Regions from separate parts of the Homo sapiens genome. Here regions 1, 2, 3, 5, 6 and 7 are each linked to region 4. The links are contacts of gene promoters, found by promoter capture Hi-C in blood cells and fetal thymus (Javierre and others, 2016). All regions are on one chromosome and are shown on one strand. Each heading gives the region's core, a stretch centred on a gene start or on the middle of the fragment in contact. The rest is flanking DNA. Distances are from core to core; before and after follow the strand shown.

The links. The method cuts DNA at HindIII sites, captures the fragments that hold promoters and counts their contacts. A CHiCAGO score of 5 or more calls a contact.
Region 1: the fragment with the promoter of TSPYL2 here is called in contact with the fragment with the promoter of APEX2 in region 4 in 1 of 17 cell types (monocytes); the score reaches 5.9 in monocytes.
Region 2: a fragment that was not itself captured here is called in contact with the fragment with the promoter of APEX2 in region 4 in 1 of 17 cell types (fetal thymus); the score reaches 5.8 in fetal thymus.
Region 3: a fragment that was not itself captured here is called in contact with the fragment with the promoter of APEX2 in region 4 in 1 of 17 cell types (naive B cells); the score reaches 6.1 in naive B cells.
Region 5: a contact is called between a fragment that was not itself captured here and the fragment with the promoter of APEX2 in region 4, in 9 of 17 cell types (neutrophils, total B cells, total CD8 T cells and 6 more). The highest score is 9.6, in neutrophils.
Region 6: a contact is called between a fragment that was not itself captured here and the fragment with the promoter of APEX2 in region 4, in 1 of 17 cell types (neutrophils). The highest score is 5.5, in neutrophils.
Region 7: a contact is called between a fragment that was not itself captured here and the fragment with the promoter of APEX2 in region 4, in 4 of 17 cell types (neutrophils, naive CD4 T cells, fetal thymus and 1 more). The highest score is 8.0, in neutrophils.

The regions. Positions count from the first base shown.
Region 1 is chrX:53,081,009-53,083,708 of GRCh38, forward strand. It overlaps TSPYL2 (TSPY like 2), which reads left to right and starts at 1,359. Exons shown (of 7, transcript NM_022117.4): 1 at 1,359-2,297. The coding sequence starts at 1,491. RefSeq lists silencers at 1,224-1,333, 1,604-1,653, 1,684-1,733. The HindIII fragment of the contact is 18,116 bases long and covers 1-2,700 here.
Region 2 is chrX:53,284,308-53,287,007 of GRCh38, forward strand. The region is part of intron 2 of IQSEC2 (IQ motif and Sec7 domain ArfGEF 2); the gene reads right to left. Among named protein-coding and RNA genes, the nearest start is that of IQSEC2, 36 kb to the right of the region's middle. The HindIII fragment of the contact is 1,056 bases long and covers 850-1,905 here.
Region 3 is chrX:53,422,589-53,425,288 of GRCh38, forward strand. SMC1A (structural maintenance of chromosomes 1A) reads right to left here and starts at 66. Exons shown (of 25, transcript NM_006306.4): 1 at 1-66. The coding sequence starts at 12. It overlaps RIBC1 (RIB43A domain with coiled-coils 1), which reads left to right and starts at 285. Exons shown (of 8, transcript NM_001031745.5): 1 at 285-416; 2 at 726-814. RefSeq lists enhancers at 1-197, 1-33, 198-1,169, 324-373. The HindIII fragment of the contact is 510 bases long and covers 996-1,505 here.
Region 4 is chrX:54,998,998-55,001,697 of GRCh38, forward strand. It overlaps APEX2 (apurinic/apyrimidinic endodeoxyribonuclease 2), which reads left to right and starts at 1,366. Exons shown (of 6, transcript NM_014481.4): 1 at 1,366-1,582; 2 at 2,549-2,632. The coding sequence starts at 1,426. RefSeq lists a silencer at 1,247-1,386. The HindIII fragment of the contact is 4,396 bases long and covers 1-2,081 here.
Region 5 is chrX:53,220,844-53,223,543 of GRCh38, forward strand. It overlaps KDM5C (lysine demethylase 5C), which reads right to left. Exons shown (of 26, transcript NM_004187.5): 2 at 1-73. Among named protein-coding and RNA genes, the nearest start is that of KDM5C, 3.0 kb to the right of the region's middle. The HindIII fragment of the contact is 2,841 bases long and covers 1-2,671 here.
Region 6 is chrX:53,107,366-53,110,065 of GRCh38, forward strand. All of the region lies in intron 2 of KANTR (KANTR integral membrane protein), which reads left to right. Among named protein-coding and RNA genes, the nearest start is that of KANTR, 15 kb to the left of the region's middle. The HindIII fragment of the contact is 8,249 bases long and covers 1-2,700 here.
Region 7 is chrX:53,673,227-53,675,926 of GRCh38, forward strand. All of the region lies in intron 3 of HUWE1 (HECT, UBA and WWE domain containing E3 ubiquitin protein ligase 1), which reads right to left. Among named protein-coding and RNA genes, the nearest start is that of HUWE1, 12 kb to the right of the region's middle. The HindIII fragment of the contact is 9,468 bases long and covers 1-2,700 here.

The DNA of each region.
Region 1 (2,700 bases), core at 109-2,608, 1.9 Mb before region 4:
AAGGGAGAGGAAAGGATGGAAAGGGGGAGAAATGAAGAGACAGAAAGTGCTAGAAAATTCTAGCAGATGAGCTGAATCACAATCATTTTTATGACGCAGAGGAAGTTACTTTTTTGTGTGTGTGATTATTATTTGTAGAGCCATTTTGCGGAGATGGAAAACGCCACGTCAAAACCTGGCCCCCAAACCAAACACCCTGGGTGCCTAAATTGCAGGCGCAGGCGGTAGGGCAGCCCGAGCCCCCGAGGAGCTACAGCAGAGTTCACCCAGGGGGCAAACGTGGGGGGTGGGGGAAGGGGCAGAAGTGGAAGGTAGGAAAAGAGGCAGAAGCGGGGGGGCGGGGGGCAGGGGTTGTGTGAGGGAAGGGGCAGAAGTTGGGGGATAGGGGAAGGGCAGAAGCGGAGGGCGGGAGGGTGAGGGAAGGGGCAGAAGTGGGGTTGGGGGGTGAAGGAAGGGGCAGAAGTTGGGGGATAGGGGAAGGGGCAGAAGTGGGGGTGAGGGAAGAGACAGTTGGGGGATGGGGGTCAGAAGCAGGGAATGCGGGAAGGGGCAGAAGGGGGGGTGAGGGAAGGGGCAGAAGCGGGGGAGGAAGGGGCAGAAGCGGGGGGTGAAGGGGCAGAAGCGGGGGTGGGGTGGGGGAAGGGGCCGAAGCGGGGGATGGGGGAAGGGGCAGAAACGGGGGGTGGGGGAAGGGACAGAAACGGGGAGTGGAGGAAGGGGCAGAAGCGGGGATGGAAAAAGGGGCAGCAGTGGGGGATGGGAGAAGGGGCAGAAGCGGGGGTGGGAGAAGGGGCAGGAGCTGGGATGGGGGAAGGGGCAGGACCCGGGATGGGGGAAGGGGCAGAAGCGGGGGTGGGGGAAGGAGCTGAAGGAAATGGGGGAAGGGGCAGATTTTAAAAGTGCGTAGTTGCTGAGGGGAGGGGGGCGGGGGGAACGATAACGAGGCTCTTCCAATTTCATGTGAGCACATCCTGCTCAGCGCCTGCGTTTGTTTTTCGTCTCGTTTTTTGGTCTTCAGAACCACTGGTACTTTTCCCATTGGATAAAACGCTGAGAGGGTGAGGGAGAGGGGCTTCTTCCCCAGCTTTCCTCGCAGCCAATCGCCCTGCAGTTTCCCTCCCGTCGCTGAGGGAGTCAGCCCGTTGATTGGCGGGCCCGAGGGGAGCCAATCGGAAACTGATGATGTGTGGTGTTGGCAAGCGGATTGCGTGAGAGCGGGCAGGGGTCGCGGGAGCGCGATCGCCGCCGCGGCGGCCGGCAGCCAATGGCCAGGCCGAGCGGACCCCTGCGTCAGGAGTGGGCGGGGCTTCGGCGATTGGCGCGGAGGGAGTAGAGCGGGCGCTGTGGGAGGGAACGCCAGAGCGAGGTGGTGAGGAGAGCTGGTTGCGTGAGTCTCCTCAGCTCTGCTTACCGGTGCGACTAGCGGCAGCGACGCGGCTAAAAGCGAAGGGGCGAGTGCGAGTCCCCTGAGCTGTACGAACGCGGTCGCCATGGACCGCCCAGATGAGGGGCCTCCGGCCAAGACCCGCCGCCTGAGCAGCTCCGAGTCTCCACAGCGCGACCCGCCCCCGCCGCCGCCGCCGCCGCCGCTCCTCCGACTGCCGCTGCCTCCACCCCAGCAGCGCCCGAGGCTCCAGGAGGAAACGGAGGCGGCACAGGTGCTGGCCGATATGAGGGGGGTGGGACTGGGCCCCGCGCTGCCCCCGCCGCCTCCCTATGTCATTCTCGAGGAGGGGGGGATCCGCGCATACTTCACGCTCGGTGCTGAGTGTCCCGGCTGGGATTCTACCATCGAGTCGGGGTATGGGGAGGCGCCCCCGCCCACGGAGAGCCTGGAAGCACTCCCCACTCCTGAGGCCTCGGGGGGGAGCCTGGAAATCGATTTTCAGGTTGTACAGTCGAGCAGTTTTGGTGGAGAGGGGGCCCTAGAAACCTGTAGCGCAGTGGGGTGGGCGCCCCAGAGGTTAGTTGACCCGAAGAGCAAGGAAGAGGCGATCATCATAGTGGAGGATGAGGATGAGGATGAGCGGGAGAGTATGAGGAGCAGCAGGAGGCGGCGGCGGCGGCGGAGGAGGAAGCAGAGGAAGGTGAAGAGGGAAAGCAGAGAGAGAAATGCCGAGAGGATGGAGAGCATCCTGCAGGCACTGGAGGATATTCAGCTGGATCTGGAGGCAGTGAACATCAAGGCAGGCAAAGCCTTCCTGCGTCTCAAGCGCAAGTTCATCCAGATGCGAAGACCCTTCCTGGAGCGCAGAGACCTCATCATCCAGCATATCCCAGGCTTCTGGGTCAAAGCAGTATCCTTCTAATCGATACTCCGTAGGTCAGAAGCCCGTGACAGGAAAGGGGAAGGTGGGGGAGGGACAGAAAAGGTAAAGCGGGTGGAGGAGAGCCAGAGGTGGGCATGATCCCCCTATCGGAAGACGGACTAGACTGGGTGGAAGAGGGATGGAAGGAGGAGGGCAAAACAGCAGAGAAGCTGGACTGGAGATGATGAAGGGTGGTGGAGGGGGGGCGGACATAAAAACTGGACCACAGATGGGAAAGGGGGAAGAGGAGGAACATAGCATTAAAAAAAGGATCACAGATGATAAAAAGGGGGAGGGTAGTAAAGGGGCACACAGCAAAAAAATTGGACCAGAGATGGTGAAAGGAGGAGGGGAGGGGCACGTAGAAGATGAACTGACTCAGAGACCTTGA
Region 2 (2,700 bases), core at 128-2,627, 1.7 Mb before region 4:
ACCTTCTGTGAGCTAGCCCCTACCCCATACCTCCAGCTAGTCTCAGCCTTCCCCCCACCTTCAACCTGCACCCCACCCAGACAGAAGCACCTGCAACTCTCTCAGCTACACTCTGCTGCTCCAAGCCTTATTAAAGAGAATGTGTGTCAAATGCTCTGTAATAGTACCTCTGTTGTCCCGCTGTGCCCCCACTGTCATCTCCCCACCTGGCTGGCTCCCCCTTGTTCTTCAAAAGTCAGCTAGATGTTGTGCCCTCTGGGAACCTGCCTTGACCCCACCCAAGCAGGTTGGGTCACCTCCCTTGTGTCCTTCCGCCCTGCTCTTTTCTCAGCCGGCTTCTCTCAACACTGTGTTCAGATGCCTGCTGCCCCTTCTCTGTCGGGAGCTCTGTGAGAGCTGTGTCTTGTTCATCCCAGTGTCCCCAGCACTCAGCACCGGGCACCTGGTCACACATGGTGGGGGGACAATGGACAGAGGTGGAGGCTGCAAGGTGGGCCAGTGGACACTAGAGGGCACTGTGGCCACTAGAATCCCAGCCTGCTGTTGGCCAGGCCGACCCAGGAGGCTCCCAGGCCCACAATTGTCACATGGAAACTGTTACTGGGTCCTGCAGCTCCTCAGCTCTGGACTTAAGCAACCAGGGCCACAGTTCCAGCCTCCCGATAAACCTTCTGCTCCCTTTCCAGATGAGACCGTTTCTCATGACAGTGCCATCTCACTGCAGATACTCCTTTAGTTCTTCACAAACGTGGGTGCCAAACACTCTTCTCGCAGTTCTGGCCTGCAACACTCTTCACTTCACTTTGCCCCACCCAACCCCTCCCCTGGCTAACTTCTACTCATGCTCCAAGCTTCCACTTAGATGTCAGCTTGGAGAAGCCTCCCTGGCCCTCAGGCTGGGTTGGGTATATTTCCGTGGTGCTCCCACAGCACCCTGCACTTCCCCTATAATTGTCTGTAATTGTCTGTCTCCTTGTCTATTTCCTGACCAGACAGTGGGCTTCATCACAGCAGGGCTGTTACTCACCACCCTATCAGCCACATTTAGCAGCATCTGGCACATTGTAGGCACTCAATAAATCCTTGAATGAAGGAATAAATGAATGGATGTGTGGATGGACAATTTGGGGCAAGTCATTTTACCTCTCTAGGTTTCAGTTTCCCCACCTGTAAGTCACCCCTACTTGGCAGGGTGGCCACAAAGATTAAAGATAATGTGTCTCCAGTGCTCTGTAATAGTACCTGATATTTAGCAGACATTTTCTGACTCAAAGCAATTATTACTATTTGGAACAGTGAGAAAAGGGCAGGGGGAGGAGTTGAAGGAGACTGCCCAGAACCTGGGATAATCTCTCTCACTTAGGTTTACCATTTAGATATGGAAGATGGCTTTAATAGCAATCATAAAACTATCAATTTTATTAAAAATAACAGCACCTGCTGTGTGCCAGGCCAGAGTCAGGAGGCCTCTGAGGAGGTGATGGGAAGCCCCTAGTCTCGGCCAGAGGATGCGAGGTCAGGGCCAAGGCCAGAGCTGTGGACATCGCTCCTGTGTCTGGAGAACAGTCATTACTGGCACAGCTGATTCCTAACTCTTTATTCATAGGTGAAAACTTGTCTAAGGGGTCATTAGTTCCCTCTGTAATTAATGTAAAACCTGCAGGGTTTGTATTAGTGGAAAAGTAAGCTCCAGCATCAAGCTGATAACATTGATAATGTGTACTTGTAATTATATACTGGAGGTAACTATAAATTCAGTCACTGAACTCATAAAATATCAAAATTCCTGAGGCCACCAAGAGCTGGGTAGCAGCTGTACCATCAGTAGCTTTATACCAGTTGTTCTGAGGTTATGAAAAATTACCACAAGCTGGTAGCAATGGTAATATTCACTGTACATTTAAAAGCTTTTTCGGCATAAAATAAGAGGGCACTTTTAGACAAAACAGCATGTTTTGATGCAAGGATATGGAACTTGAAAGCACAGTGAGCAAAGGTCATCTTGCTATAAAATAGGAACCAAAAACAATCTTACAAGTGTTTGCCTCTGAGCCGACCAGCTCTGACCTCACTTGGGTACACATAAAAACTGTGCTTACTGCAGAAGAAACAAGAAGTACCAAGTGTTTTCTCTCTCTCCTCTCATCCAATTCTGAGGGAATCAATTATCTCACACGGCCCCTTGCTGCCTTGTGTTACCACAGGCTGGAGGATCACTGCAGTCCAATGGCAGGAGGGGCAGATCCTGAAGCTGGAAAAGGTCACATAGCTTCCAGGTTGGTGGCCATGTCAGGCCATGGGCAAGCAGAGGAAGCTGGTCCAGAGAGAGAAGTCCATGAAAAAGAGATGATAGGCTGGGCGCGGTGGCTCACACCTATAATCCCAGCACTTTGGGAGGCCGAGGAGGGGGGATCACGAGGTCAAGAGATCGAGACCATCCTGGCCAAAATGGTGAAACCCCATCTCTACTAAAAATACAAAAATTAGCTGGGTGTGGTGGCACACGCCTGTAGTCCCAGCTACTTGGGAGGCTGAGGCAGGAGAATCGCTTGAACCCAGGAGGTGGAGGTTGCAGTGAGCCAAGATCATGGCATTGCACTCCAGCCTGGGCGACAGAGCAAGTATCCGGCTCAAAAAAAAAAAAAAAAAAGAAAAAGAAAAAGAAAGAAAGAAAGAAAAAGAGATGACAGGGACCAGGCA
Region 3 (2,700 bases), core at 1-2,500, 1.6 Mb before region 4:
CAGGAACCCCATGACGGCCGCGGCGCCGGCGGCAGTAGGACAGGCCGCGCCGTACGCCCGAGAACTGAGGTAGCCCGCGCGGGAAACGCCGCAGTGCAAGCCGGGCGACCGGCAAATGTCGCGAGAATACGTCCAGGCCTAACGGGATTTTCGCCTTCCGGCAGGAGTGGGACCAGGGGCGGGGACTGATGTTGCGTATACGAGGAGCGAGCTGACGACTGGCGTGGTGCCTCCGCCCCCCTTTCTTGTTGCATGGCAACAACAAACACTTGCTCCTGCGGACCAGATCCCCGGAGGAGTTGTTGCTGGGCGGAGTCAGAGCAGTTCTTGAGGTTCAAGGAGGCGGGGGAGACCTGAGCTCACGCTTGCTGAGACAGAAGTCACAGCAGGATTATGCCCCTCAGGGCAAGAGGAAGGTGGGAGCTCGGCTGTGGCTTTAGCCTGGCCAGCTTTCAAGGCTAGGACAAGGACAGGGTCGGGAATTGGAAGGACCCGGGGGGAGCGGAGAGCTGGACGGGAAGGAGGGGCCAACGGGAGGATTCAGTGTTAGGTGAGCTCAGACTTTGCTAATGGTGGGGTGGGATTGGTGGCGGGACGGGTTGCGAAGGCGGACGGGTTGTGAATGGGACTGGGGCTACTCCCAGGCAACAGGGATACAGGCTGGGGAAGGCTACGGCCTGAGATACTACCCCTATCCCCTGCCTCCCTCCTGTTGTACCAAGCAGAGTTCAGAAACTGCCGCCGTAACCCAAGAACAAAGTTGCATGCAGAGCCAACCTAAGAGCTTCAAAATCGGGATTCCTTACTGAGAAAGGTATTTTGTGTGAACCCCCAGGAGTCAGGGTCCCTAAGCCAGCGCTCTCCACCTCCACCTACCTCTGCCTCCATGCCTCTCCCCCATCCCATTCCCACAGCTCTATACCACAATGCCACCTTACCTCTCTTCCCTCTCTGCTCTCTATCATTAATAAGGCAGGGGCCTTAGCAATCCAAGAAGCTTAAAATGTCAGCTGAATCTTCCCCTTCAGTGACCTTATACTGTAATGGCAGGTGAAACCAGTAGGTAAGTTGGTGCCATTCTCAGACTTAAACATGGAAAGGATCTGGTGGTTGCCATAATTATTCCTTTAACTATTTATTAAATTATGTCCGAAGGCTAGAAAGAGTCCTAAAGACTTAGGACAAGTCCAGGAAAGTGAGGAAGTGGCTGGGCATGGTGGCTGACAACTGTAATCCCATCGTGAGGGAGGCAGGCCAAGGCAGGAGGATCACTTGAGACCAGCAGTTCAAGACCAGCCTGGGCAACATAGTGAGACCCTATCTCTACTAAAAATTAAAAAATTAGCTGGGTGTGGCAGCTCTCACCTCTGGTCTACCCAGGATGCCGAAGCAGGAGGATCACTTGAGCCTGGGAGGTTGAGGCTGTAGTGAGTGGTGTCCGCACCACTTCACTCCAGCCTAGGTGACAGAGCAATACCCTGTCTCAAAAATAAATAAAGGGAGGAAGCTTGGTAGATGGAATCTAGTAGGGGAGCCATAAATGAAGTTCAGCTGGGAGAAACAATCAGGCTGAGGGGATAAAATGGCTAAAAGACAGCAATCTCATGTAATCCATGGGGAAATACTGTTCCCTTTTAAAAGATGAGATGGTGAGCCTGGGTAACATAGCAAAACCCAATCTCTACAAAAAAATTTTAAAAATTAGGCAGGCATGGTGGCACACACCTGTAGTCCCAGCTACTCAGGAGGCTGGGGCAGGAAGATCCTTTGAGCCCAGGAGTTTGAGGCTGCAGTGAGCCATGATTGCACCACTACACTCCATCCTGGGCAACAGAGAGAGACCCCATCTAAAACAAATTAAAAATAAAATAAATTTTATTCTCTGCCTCAGCCTTCCAAGTAGCTAGGATTACAGGTGCCCACTGCCACGCCTGGCTAATTTTTTTGTATTTTTAGTAAAGACAGGGTTTCACTATGTTGGCCAGGCTGGTCTTGAACTCCTGACCTCCTGATCCACCTGCCTCGGCCTCCCAAAGTGCTGGGATTACAGGCGTGAGCCACCGCGCCCGGCCAAAAATAAAATAAAATTTTAAATTTAAAAAAGATGAGATGGCACTTGGGGGGAAAATTAAATTGGATCCTTATCTCACACCATACACAAAATGCAACTCCAAGTGGATTAAAAACCTAAGTGACGCCGGGCACAATGGCTCATGCCTGTAATACCAGCACTTTGGGAGGCCGAGGCAGGAGAATTGCTTGAGTTCAAGACTAGCTTGGGCAATATAGTGAGACCCCATCTATATTAAAAAAAATTAAATGGGGCCAGGTGTGGTGGCTCATGCCTGTAATCCCAGCACTTTGGGAGGCCAAGGAGGGTGGATCATAAGGTCAGGAGATTGAGACTATCCTGGCTAACACTGTGAAACCCCATCTCTACTAAAAATACAAAAATCAGCCGGGCATATATGTTCAACTACTTCACAGTTACAAAATGGAAAACAAAACAAAACACCAAAAAGATCCAAATAGCTATAGGAGGAATTAAAGAATCACGCTCCAAACAAAGGAACAGCACATACAAAGGCCCCGGGGTGGGAACAATTACTGTGTTGGAGGACTTGATCAGCTTGCCTGGAGCACTGTAAGCAAGGGAGACAGTGGTTTGAGACAAATTGGAGAGGTGTGCAGGAACTAGAT
Region 4 (2,700 bases), core at 116-2,615:
CCTCCAGGAGGAAAAGCAGTTTACTGCGTCTTTGCTGTAACCATTGAGGATGATGGCTCTAAGACTTAAATTCTGGGGAACAAATAATTATGCTGCAATTCTGGGTGAGGAACCTAAAGATGCATCGTTATGCTTTTCCCTGGACATTGGGCATATCCATTACTTCTAATTTTTGTGCTCTCAAAAACAAGCCATGAACCTGTCGATGCTCTTGCTATTATCCTTTGTTCATTCATTCACCTGACAAATATCTATTGCTTCCCAACATATGCTGTGTCCAGTATTAGGGGATGGGGCTAACAAGATGAACCAGACATGGTCATTGCTCTCAAGTTGCTGGCATTCTAATGGCAGCAGAAATAGAAGTCAATGATAGCTGTGTATTATAAGTACTGTGACAGAATGGACCATAGGGTGCCGTGGGGCCCCAGAGGAAAAGACTTAACTGGGGAGGTGTGTGGTCAGTAAAAACACTCAGAAAAGTAATTATTGAGCTAATTAAGACAGGGTGTGAATCCTGGCTCTACTACTTCAGTGTAAGAGAGAGTGAACTGTGAGAATGAAATGAATTCATTCGACGTCTCTAACTTAGCCTCCATGTCCCGAACTGGGTTGTCTTGAGAATGAAATGAGATAACATATACAGAAGAGCCATGGATGCATCCGGAGACAATGCTGCTCACGAGCTTACATTTCCTGGGCTTCGATTTCACTTATCTGAGAAACAGAACCAAGAGTAAGGATGTGTCCGGCTACATCCTTCAGAATGTTAAGAGCCAAGACAAAAGCTACAGGGCAGGCTTGAGACAGCCTCCTCCTCCTCCCCTCTGCCCCAATAAAGCCAAAGGCCCTCCTCCTAAGTCTTATCTCAGTGGAGCGACTCTTACTGCTCCCTCCTCCAACCATGAACTTCCCTTTGCCCAGTCCAACGCGAGCACTTAGCGCCAGCTATTCCTGGGGCGCAAGCGCTGCAGCCATCTGTGAACTTAGGTGGGCGGTCCGCCGCACTGAGGGCGGGGCTTTGGCAGCTGAGCAGTTCCGCTCAGGGTTCCGTCGCTTAAAAAGTGGCAAAATGCCGTTTGTAAGTAACCGGACGCACCACTTGGACTTCTGAGTAGAGGAAAAACGCATTGAGACTCAGCTGTCCGAGCGGAAGGAGCGGGAGCCCAACTGGAAACTCCTCTCGCCATTCATTGCCCCTAGGCTTCCGCTTTGCTTCCTTCAGCGTCCACCCAGTTCCTCCTCCCGCCAATGAGAGCTGAGGAAGTTGAAGCCCCCGCCCGACGTGCGTCAGGCGCTTTAGTGGTACGCACGAGAACGCCTGCGCAAACGCGCGCGGGAGGCGGGCCTGGCCAACTTCTGAACAGGAAGCAGTTCGCTCGCGCCTAGGTTGGCGCGGGCTGGGAGGTGTTCCAGCCCTTTAAGATGTTGCGCGTGGTGAGCTGGAACATCAATGGGATTCGGAGACCCCTGCAAGGGGTGGCAAATCAGGAACCCAGCAACTGTGCCGCCGTGGCCGTGGGGCGCATTTTGGACGAGCTGGATGCGGATATCGTCTGTCTCCAGGAAACCAAAGTGACCAGTGAGCGCTCTGGATTCCAGGATCCCTACATACTTTTTCTTTCCCGCTAACTTTTGTCCCCTGTCCCATGTAATTTTACTTTCCCAGTTTCCTATTCTTAGAGTCCTGTCCTTAGACCCAGGTCCCTTCCCTCTTAAACTTCCATTTCCCACCCTAGCTAGATCCCCTAATTGCACTCCATCTCCTGTCTTCAGCAAACTTTAGCTCCTTCTCGAAACCCCATATCTAGTCAGATTCCCACTCATTCTCCGGCCCCAAACTCAGTCCCCTGAATTTCCTCCTTCCATACGCTGTCCATCTCCCCGCCGCCAAGTCAAACCCCCGAATTCTTCATCCCTGCCCCAAGCTCAGATCCTCTAATTCCCACCCCATCTTTGACCCCAGCTCAGTCTAATTTCCTCTTTTTCACATTTCCACCTCAGAACCCCAGTACCCCTTATCTATTCCCATCTCTCCTCCCAGCGGAAAGTCCCTAATTCCCACCTCATTTCCCACCCCAAGCTTAGATGTCCTCTTATTTCTTCACCCTCTTATCTCCCCTCAGAATCCCCTAATTCCTTTTCCCTCCACCCCCAGTTCAGATCCCCTAATTCCCTCTCTCTTACCTCTCACCCTTAGCTCAGATTCCCACCATCCTCTCGTATGTCCATCCCCATCCCCAGCTTCCTCCTATCGTTCAGACCCCCAGGCTTAGCTCTGATTCTTTCCCCTTCCCACCTAATTCTCCACCTCCACTTCATAGTCTCTAACCGCCCCCCACCAAGCCTTCTAATTCTGATATCAATTTCCTCTCTGACATTTCCCATCTTTCTAGGTCCTCCTCTAATCATGGATATTTCATTCCCGTCACCCCCAACTCTGGCTCTGATGTGTGCAAGGAATTAGCCTACAACTGTAATTCCAGGCCTTTGTGTTTCTCGGATGCTAGTTTTACCTCTGACTTAATCTTACATTTTTTTTTTCCAGGGGATGCACTGACAGAGCCCCTGGCTATCGTTGAGGGTTATAACTCCTATTTCAGCTTCAGCCGCAACCGTAGCGGCTATTCTGGTAAATGGGGCTTTCTGTGGACTTTAAATTAGTGAGGGAGGCAGATAGGGGAAAAGGGTTTCCAATAT
Region 5 (2,700 bases), core at 1-2,500, 1.8 Mb before region 4:
GCTCATTCAGCCTCTGGATTCGGGGGGTAAACCTGAAGTTGTCCACTTCCACAGCAAAGGGTGGCTGCCAGTCCTGAGAGGGTAGAGAGGGGAAAGGGACTTGAGTTATCTCAGCATAGTGTAAGACCGGAAGTCACCAAAAGCAGCTCGGAATCCCACTGGCACCTTCCCAAACCTCTAGCCACTCCAGACCCTTTAACCTGCAAACATCCTACCCAACCACCCACCCCCACCTCCCCCCAGAACTCACAAGAGTCTAGCAGCCCCTCAAGTCTGCACCCAAGGCCCCATGCACATGCCCTAGGAAACTTCTCCTGAGTCCCACCCAACAGTACAGTGCCAGGATTTCAAGAAATTAAGAGATGGAGCCTCTGTTTTGTTGACCCTAAACCTTCTCCACACCCACATTAATTCCTTATCCCCTAGGCACGTGCTGTAGGACACACAGGCCTGGGAGTACTGGAAAGCACACAGGATCTAGAGTCAGAAGATATGGGTTCATGTTCTAGATCCGCTACTTACTAGCTATGAGATTTTAGCTTTCTGAACCTGTTTTCTCATCTGTGAGGTGGGAATATGAACTCTAGCCCTGGCTTCCTTGCCAGACCAATATGGAAAATTAAAACTAGTTTTCAAATGAAAATGTTATTCAAAGGAGTCACCGTTATGACCTGACATCTAAGGCTGACCACACCTCACAATACACATGCAGGGTAGCTCAGGTCCGATTGTGGCAGGACGTAAAGGTTTGGGCCTTTAATGTTTGTTCTCTCAGTTTAAAGGGCCTGAGATAGACACTGCAGGGAAGAGCAAGGAACAGGGAGCAAGTATGTGTATCACTCACCCAGTCTGGAAGGCTTCCTGTAGATCCTCTCTCATACACCTGCCTGGTACAGGAAGAGGCAGGGGAGGAAGCCCCAGGGGGTGGGGGTAAGTGCTGGGATGCCTGACTGTGGTGGCAAAGAATGGGAGGATTTGGGGAGGGAAGTCAGGGAAAGATCATGAAAGTGGGAGACACTCTGCTCTGCCAAGTTGGAGCTTGCTGTGTCCTGCCCAAAGGTCAGCTGTGAAGAACCCCCTCTCCAACACCCCTTTCCAACCTCCTATGCAGACCTCTCCTTCCCAGAGCCCTGGCTCCTGCTGGGGTGGTGAAATCAACCTAAAGTAACCTAAACCAATGTTCTCATTTTATAAATGGGGAAAGTGAGGCTCAGAGAAAAAAAGTGAAATTTCCAAAATTACATGCTGAGTTAGTGGTGGGGCCAAGAACCCACGTCTTCTGACCTCTGATCCAAGGCCTTTGCACTACACCAGACATCAATGTTCATACATACATGCATACACGTGGGCGGGGGGGAGAGACAGTGAAAGAGAAGAAAAACTGTTGACCTCTTCTGCACACACACTTTTAGAAAATGGGCTAGAGGACTCATATTTTGCATGCATACACAGACCACACTCCCCTGCCCCTACCAGCCAAAGCAGGTGGCAAACATCTGGGGCTCAGTAAGCAGGGACAAAAAAAAAAAAAAACAGGCAGGCCAAAATGGTATGGCTCAAATCCAGACAAGCTCCCCATGCCCTCTTGCCTCTCATCAGGATAGGGCACTCCCCTCAGCACAGGTAACCCAGCTAAAAAGGTGCTCAAACCCAAAACTCCGGGCACCCTTCTTTCCTGCTGAATCAAGTTCTAGACAATCAGTGCAACATCAAGCACCTGACAGGAAATGGCAGCCCTGGAATGCTACGGCAGGAGCCATGGATGCAACAGATACCTGGGAAGGCCCTGCAAACCGCCTGCCTTCATCTCCAGACTACTGTATGCCAAATGTATGTTGGTATTACTGGGATGTGGTGATAAAAAAAAGGCTGGCTACCTGATGAAGAAAGCAAGATCCTTCCAAACTCCACTGGGTCTACTCAGGGTACCCACACTCTCCTCCCACCCATCTTTCCCAAGCGTAGCAGTCACCTGCCCAGCAATTCAGGCCCCAAACCATCCTTCCTCCAGCAAACCTCCAATTCCCAGGTACCCACCCATATACAGGTTCCCACCCTGGGCCCAAGCATCACTTGAGCGAGTACTTCAAACTTCAACCAGAAGAAGGCCAGCTGCCTAAAGGTGGCCTAGGAGCTGCCATAGAGAAGGAAAAAACAAAACCAAACCAGAGAGCCAGGTATCCTGGATTAGAGAGAAGCACACTGTTGAGCAGTGAAAAGGACGGCCTCCTGCTGGCCATGCACACCTGGGACATGTCACTCTTCCCCTTCCTGATGCCCCAAAGCAGGGTAACAACACCTACACAAGGCCAGCCTGCCTAAGTCAGTCCAAGATAGAAAAAAGGAATTCAGGCCTCAACTACCCCCTACGTCAGCTATGCCTCTTTTTCCCACAGGCTTGCCCAACCACTTCAGGGAGTGCCTCCTTGAGGCTGCCCAGGACTCCTGCCTCTCCCTTCCACTAGCCTTCCTGACCCTCTACCCACTGCCACTCCCTCACCATGGACAAGGATACCTCAGAAATCTGTGGCCAGACTCCAAGAAGGAAGAAATTCGCTTACCCAACACCTCCTAGAGGATCTATCTGAAACCATCCTAGATCTGTGGCTGAGCACCAGAAAGCACCAAGTTGGATAAGGAGGCCTGTGGTGCCCTCCTCAGGTGGGAATGAAGCTTCCTATTCCATTTCAGCCAGGAGAC
Region 6 (2,700 bases), core at 45-2,544, 1.9 Mb before region 4:
TTCCTGGCTTCAACCAATCCTCCTGCCTCGTCCTCCCAAAGTGCTGGGATTACAGGCATGATCTACCAAACTCAGCAGTTTATCAATTTCTTTAAAAAAAAAAACAGCTGAAATTCTCATAGAGATTATGTTGAATCTATATATCAACTTGGGGAGTATTGCCATTTAACAATATTGTCTTCTAGTCTGTGAACTTGGGATTTATTTAGATGTTTAATTTCTTTCAGGAGTGTTTTATAGTTTTCAGTATACAAGTCTTGCAGTTCCTTTGTTAAATTTATTCCTAGGCATTTTATTCTTTTTGATACTACTTTAAAATGGGATGTTTTTTAATTTTTAAAAATTTTTAAATTAAAATAATTTTTAATTTCCTCATGCTTTTATCTCAGAGTCAGGGGTTTGTTTTCTAGAGACAAGGTCTTGCTCTGTTGCTCAAACTAGAGTGCAATGGCTCCATCATAGCCCACAGCAGCCTTGAACTCATGGGATTACAGGTGTGAACCACTGCACCTAGCTGGACTTTTTCTTTTTTTCTTTTTTCTGAGACGGAGTCTCACTCTGTCACCCAGGCTGGAGTGCAGTGGGGCGCTCTTGGCTCATTGCAACCTCCGCCTCCTGGGTTCAAGCGATTCTCCTGCCTCAGCCTCCAGAGTAGCTGGGATTATAGGCACCAGCCACTACACCCAGCTAATTTTTTGTATTTTTAGTAGAGACGGGGTTGCACCATGTTGGCCAGGCTGGTCTCAAACTCCTGACCTCATGATCTGCCCGCCTCGGCCTCCCAAAGTGCTAGGATTACAGGCGTGAGCCACCGTGCCTGGCCTTCAAATTTTTTCTTAATTTTTTTTTTTTTTGAGACAGAGTCCCACTCTGTCACCCAGGCTGGAGTGCAGTGGCGTGATCTCAGCTCACTGCAACCTCCACCTCCCGGGTTCAAGCAATTCTTGTGCCTCAGCCTCCCAAGCAGCTGGGACTACAGGTGCATACTACCACACCCAGCTAATTTTTGTATTTTTAGTAGCCATGGGGTTTTGCCATGTTGGCCAGGCTGGTCTCGAACTCCTGGCCTCAAGTAATCCACCCGACCTCAGCCTCCCAAAGTGCTGGGATTATAGGCATGAACCACTGCACCCAGCCCTTAATTTCATTTTTTGATTGTTCATTGCTAGTGCATAGAAATACAATAGATTTTTGTTTATTGATCCTCTATCATATGACATTGCTGAACTTGTTTATTAGTTCAAATAGTTTTTTGGTGGATTCCTTGGGATTTTTAAATATACAAGATCATGTTATCTCTAAATAGAGATAGTTTCACTTTTTTCTTTCCTGTCTGAATGCCTTTTTTTTTTTGAGGCAGGGTCTCGCTCTGTAACCCAGGCTGCAGCGCAGCGGTGTGATCATAGCTCACTGCAACCTCGAACTCTCGGGCTCAAGCAGTCCTCCCATCTCAGCCTCCAAAGTATGTAGGACTACAGGTGCACACCACCACACCCAGCTGATTTTTAATTTTTTTGTGGAGACAAGGGTCTCACTATGTTGTCCAGGCTGGTCTCAAACTCCTAGATTCGAGCAGTCCTTTCACTTCAGCCTCCCAAAGTGCTGGGATTACCAGCTTTGTTCTTTTTGCTCCAGATTACTTTGGCTATTTGGTGTCTTTTGTGGTTTATACAAATTTTAGTATTTTTCTGTAAAAAATGACATGGAACTTTTATAGAGATTGCATTAAATTTGTAGATCACTTTGAGTAGTGTGGACATTTAAACAATACTAATTTTTCCAATTCATGACCACAGGGTATCTTTCCATGTATTTGTATCATCTTCAGTTTCATTCATCAATGTCTTACTGTTTTCAGGGTACACGTCTTTTACCTCCTTGGTTAAATTTATTCCTAAGTTTGTTTTTTGTTGTTTTGTTTTTGTTTTTGTTTTGAGATGGAGTTTCGCTCTTGTTGCCCAGGCTGGAGTATGCAGTGGCGCGATCTCATCTCACTGCAACCTCCGCCTCCCAGTTTCAAACGATTCTCCTGCCTCAGCCTCCCGAGTAGCTGGGATTACAGATGTGTGCCACCACACCCTGCTAATTTTGTATTTTTAGTAGAGATGGGGTTTCGCCATGTTGGCCAGCCTGGCTTCAAACCCCTGACCTCAGGTGATCCACCCGCCTCGGCCTCCCAAAGTGCTGGGATTACAGGCGTGAGCCACTACACCCGGTTATTCCTAAGTATTTTACTTTTTTTCTGTAGCTATTGTAAATGGGATTGCTTTCTTGATTTCTTTTTCAGATACTTTGTTGTTAGTGTATAGAAGTGCTACTGATTTTTGTATGTTGATTTTGTATCCTGTAACTTTACTGAATTTATTTGTTCTAACGGTTTTCTTTTTTCTTTCTTTTTTTTTTTTTGGAGACAGAGTCTCACTGTATTGCCCAAGCGGGAGTGCAGTGGCATGTTCTCAGCTCACTGCACCCCCGTCTCCTGGGTTCAAGCAATTCTCATGCCTCAGCCTCCCGAGTAGCTGGGACTATAGGCATGTGCCACCATGCCTGGCTAAGTTTTATATTTTTTAGTAGAGATGGGGTTTCACCATGTTGGCCAGGGTGGTCTCGAACTCCTGGCCTCAAGCCATCTGCCAGCCCCGGCCTCCCAAAGTGCTGGGATTACAGGCATGAGCCACTGCACGCAGGCTTGTTCTAACA
Region 7 (2,700 bases), core at 86-2,585, 1.3 Mb before region 4:
TCATTGTACTGATTGTAAGGGGGGAAGGGAATGCTGGGTATTAAAAAAGTATCTCCTGTTTACCTATACAGGTTAAGTATCTCCTATCCAGTGCTTGGGACCAGCAGGATTTCAGATTTCAGATTCTTGAATATCTGCCTATACATCATGAGACATCTTGAGGATGCGGCTCAAGTTTAAACATGAAATCCATTCATGTTCCATACACACCTTATACATACAGCCTGAAGGTAATTTTACACAATTTCTCGTATAAATTTAGGTGGCACAAGTACAGTTCTGTTACATGGGTATATTGTGCAGTAGTGAAGTCTAGACATTTAGTGTAACCATCACCCAAATAATGTTCGTTGTACCCTATACAATATTTTTAATAATTCTGCTCATGAAACAAAGTGTTAAGTACTTAGGCGTAGAATTTTCCACTTGTGGCATCGTGTTGAAACTCATTTTGGGGCATTTTGAATTTTGGATTAGGGACACTCAACTTGTGTTACTTCCAACTCCACAAAAAAATGTAAGGCAAAAATAAATGTTAAAAATGATCAATTCTGGAGTGGGGGTAGGGACAGGGATTGTTGTATTATTCTCTGTACTTCTCAGTATATTTTTCAGAAGTAGAAATGCACATATTACAGAAAAAGGTAAAGTTCCCCACGATCCCTCCTCCCAAATAAAGTTGTCAGTTTGCCATGGTTTTTTTTAAAACATAAATAGCATCACATAGTATGTACTCTCTTGCAACTTGCCAAAATTGCCTCCAAAATAGCTGTATCAATTTACGCCACTTGTAGGCAGTATTATAAGGCCAGACTCTTCCTTATACCTTTTACGATGACTTGATATTATCAAATTATTTTTTATCAATCTAATGACTAAAAATGACCTTATTTAAATTTGCATTTCTGATTATTAGTTTGAGTACCATTTCTTGTTAGTGGACGTTTTTAGTTTCCTATTCTGGGAAATGCCTATCCTTAAAATTTCCTACTAGATTTCTTTTCTTATTCCTTAAACACTACCCTTATCATTAAGATGTGAATACACCAAAATGTTAACAGTGACTAAACATTGTGGTGGAATTATGTATATCCTCTCCCCAAATATGCACACATTTTCTAGTTTTTCCTGAATTCAGTGATTAAAAACTAGAAAATGATAAAATGGATGAAAAAAATCCTTTTAGACAAAAGCATTAACTTTCAGGATACTCTACTACAGGTTACCCTTAAGGAGGTCATAAAATCTAGCTCAAAGAAATAAATGCATCTAAAGAGTAAGTCTTGTGAAGAAATGAAACAATAATGGTTTGAGACTATTGATTCATTTGGGGTACGTTTAACTAACTTATTTGTATAGCATTTTTGAATTCATGAAGTACTTTTCATTTATCTTGCTTAACCCTAACAAAACTCTGTGACATTCTCTGATGCCTTCTTGTAAACTGCTATAGCACATTTTGTTCATTCCTCATATTACCATACTGACCCTTTTGTGTGATTTGCAAGTCTCCTTCCCCTAGACCACACTGTCCTACATTCTCCAGTCACTTATCTTTGTATTCCCAGGATGTAGCTGCAATGACTACGTCCTCAATAAATATTTGTTAAATGAATATCACCATCTTCATTTAAAGGATGAGGAAACTGGCTCAGTGATGAGGTAATTTGCCCCAAGTAACATAGCTACTAAGTATTTTATATAAATTATAATGACCTTATCTTCGTACTTTACAAGCATTTAAAAATACATCATCTCGCTTTAATGCTCACAGCAACCTATGAAATAGGCTTTCCGATTACTGTTTTATAGATAAGAATGGAAATTTAGTGATATACCCTAGGCCCACTCGAATCCTAGTTTATATGAAGTACAGCTGTTTCTTTACATTGTACTTGATCACTACCTGGGTATGGGAGCCTCTATTTTTATGTACCAAGTACATTAAGGGTAGGGTATAGGGGAGGAAAGATGGAAGTAAGGCAGTTTAAAGGCACAGGAAAGAGGCTGGAGCCCAGGTGTACAGGCCCATCTAAAGACCATAAACTGGTATTGTAATGTCAACTGCACATGCCACTCTGAAATCCAATATTGGCCCAAAGGTTTTTCTTGATATTACCCTGTATTAATAGAAGACAATTGTTGGCTTTCTCACATATCAGCAGTCTCAAAGGCTGGGGAGGCACACAGAATTAGGAAAGCTGTGAGAAACAATGGACAGGCTATATCATGCATAGACAGTGCAGGGGAAGAAATGATGACACAAAGGAAAAGGCTAAGGAACTTTAAACATGATTTCACAGTCCTTAACTCGACTGTGAGTTTCTCAAGGGCAGAGACCAAGTCTCATTCATTTTATGTCCCTTACTCCTTATACTTAGCAACATTCAGTAAATGTTATGTTAAAAGAAAAAAAAAGATATATTAAGCTAAAAACTGAACAATGACTTCCATTTATTCAGCAGCACTTATTACATGCCACAAACTATACTTTAGATATTATGTGTAATGTTTAAAAAAATAAGATTTACCTGTTTGCTGACCTGCCATGCATGGTGCTGCCCAAATGTGTTAACAGTGGTGATACTGATGACTATTAGGAATACTTATTATAGGTTACTAAGGTTACAACAGAACCTTGAACACCTTGAATAGGAGGGGCCAGTATAGACGGAGAGAGATCAAGGTAACCAATGTAAT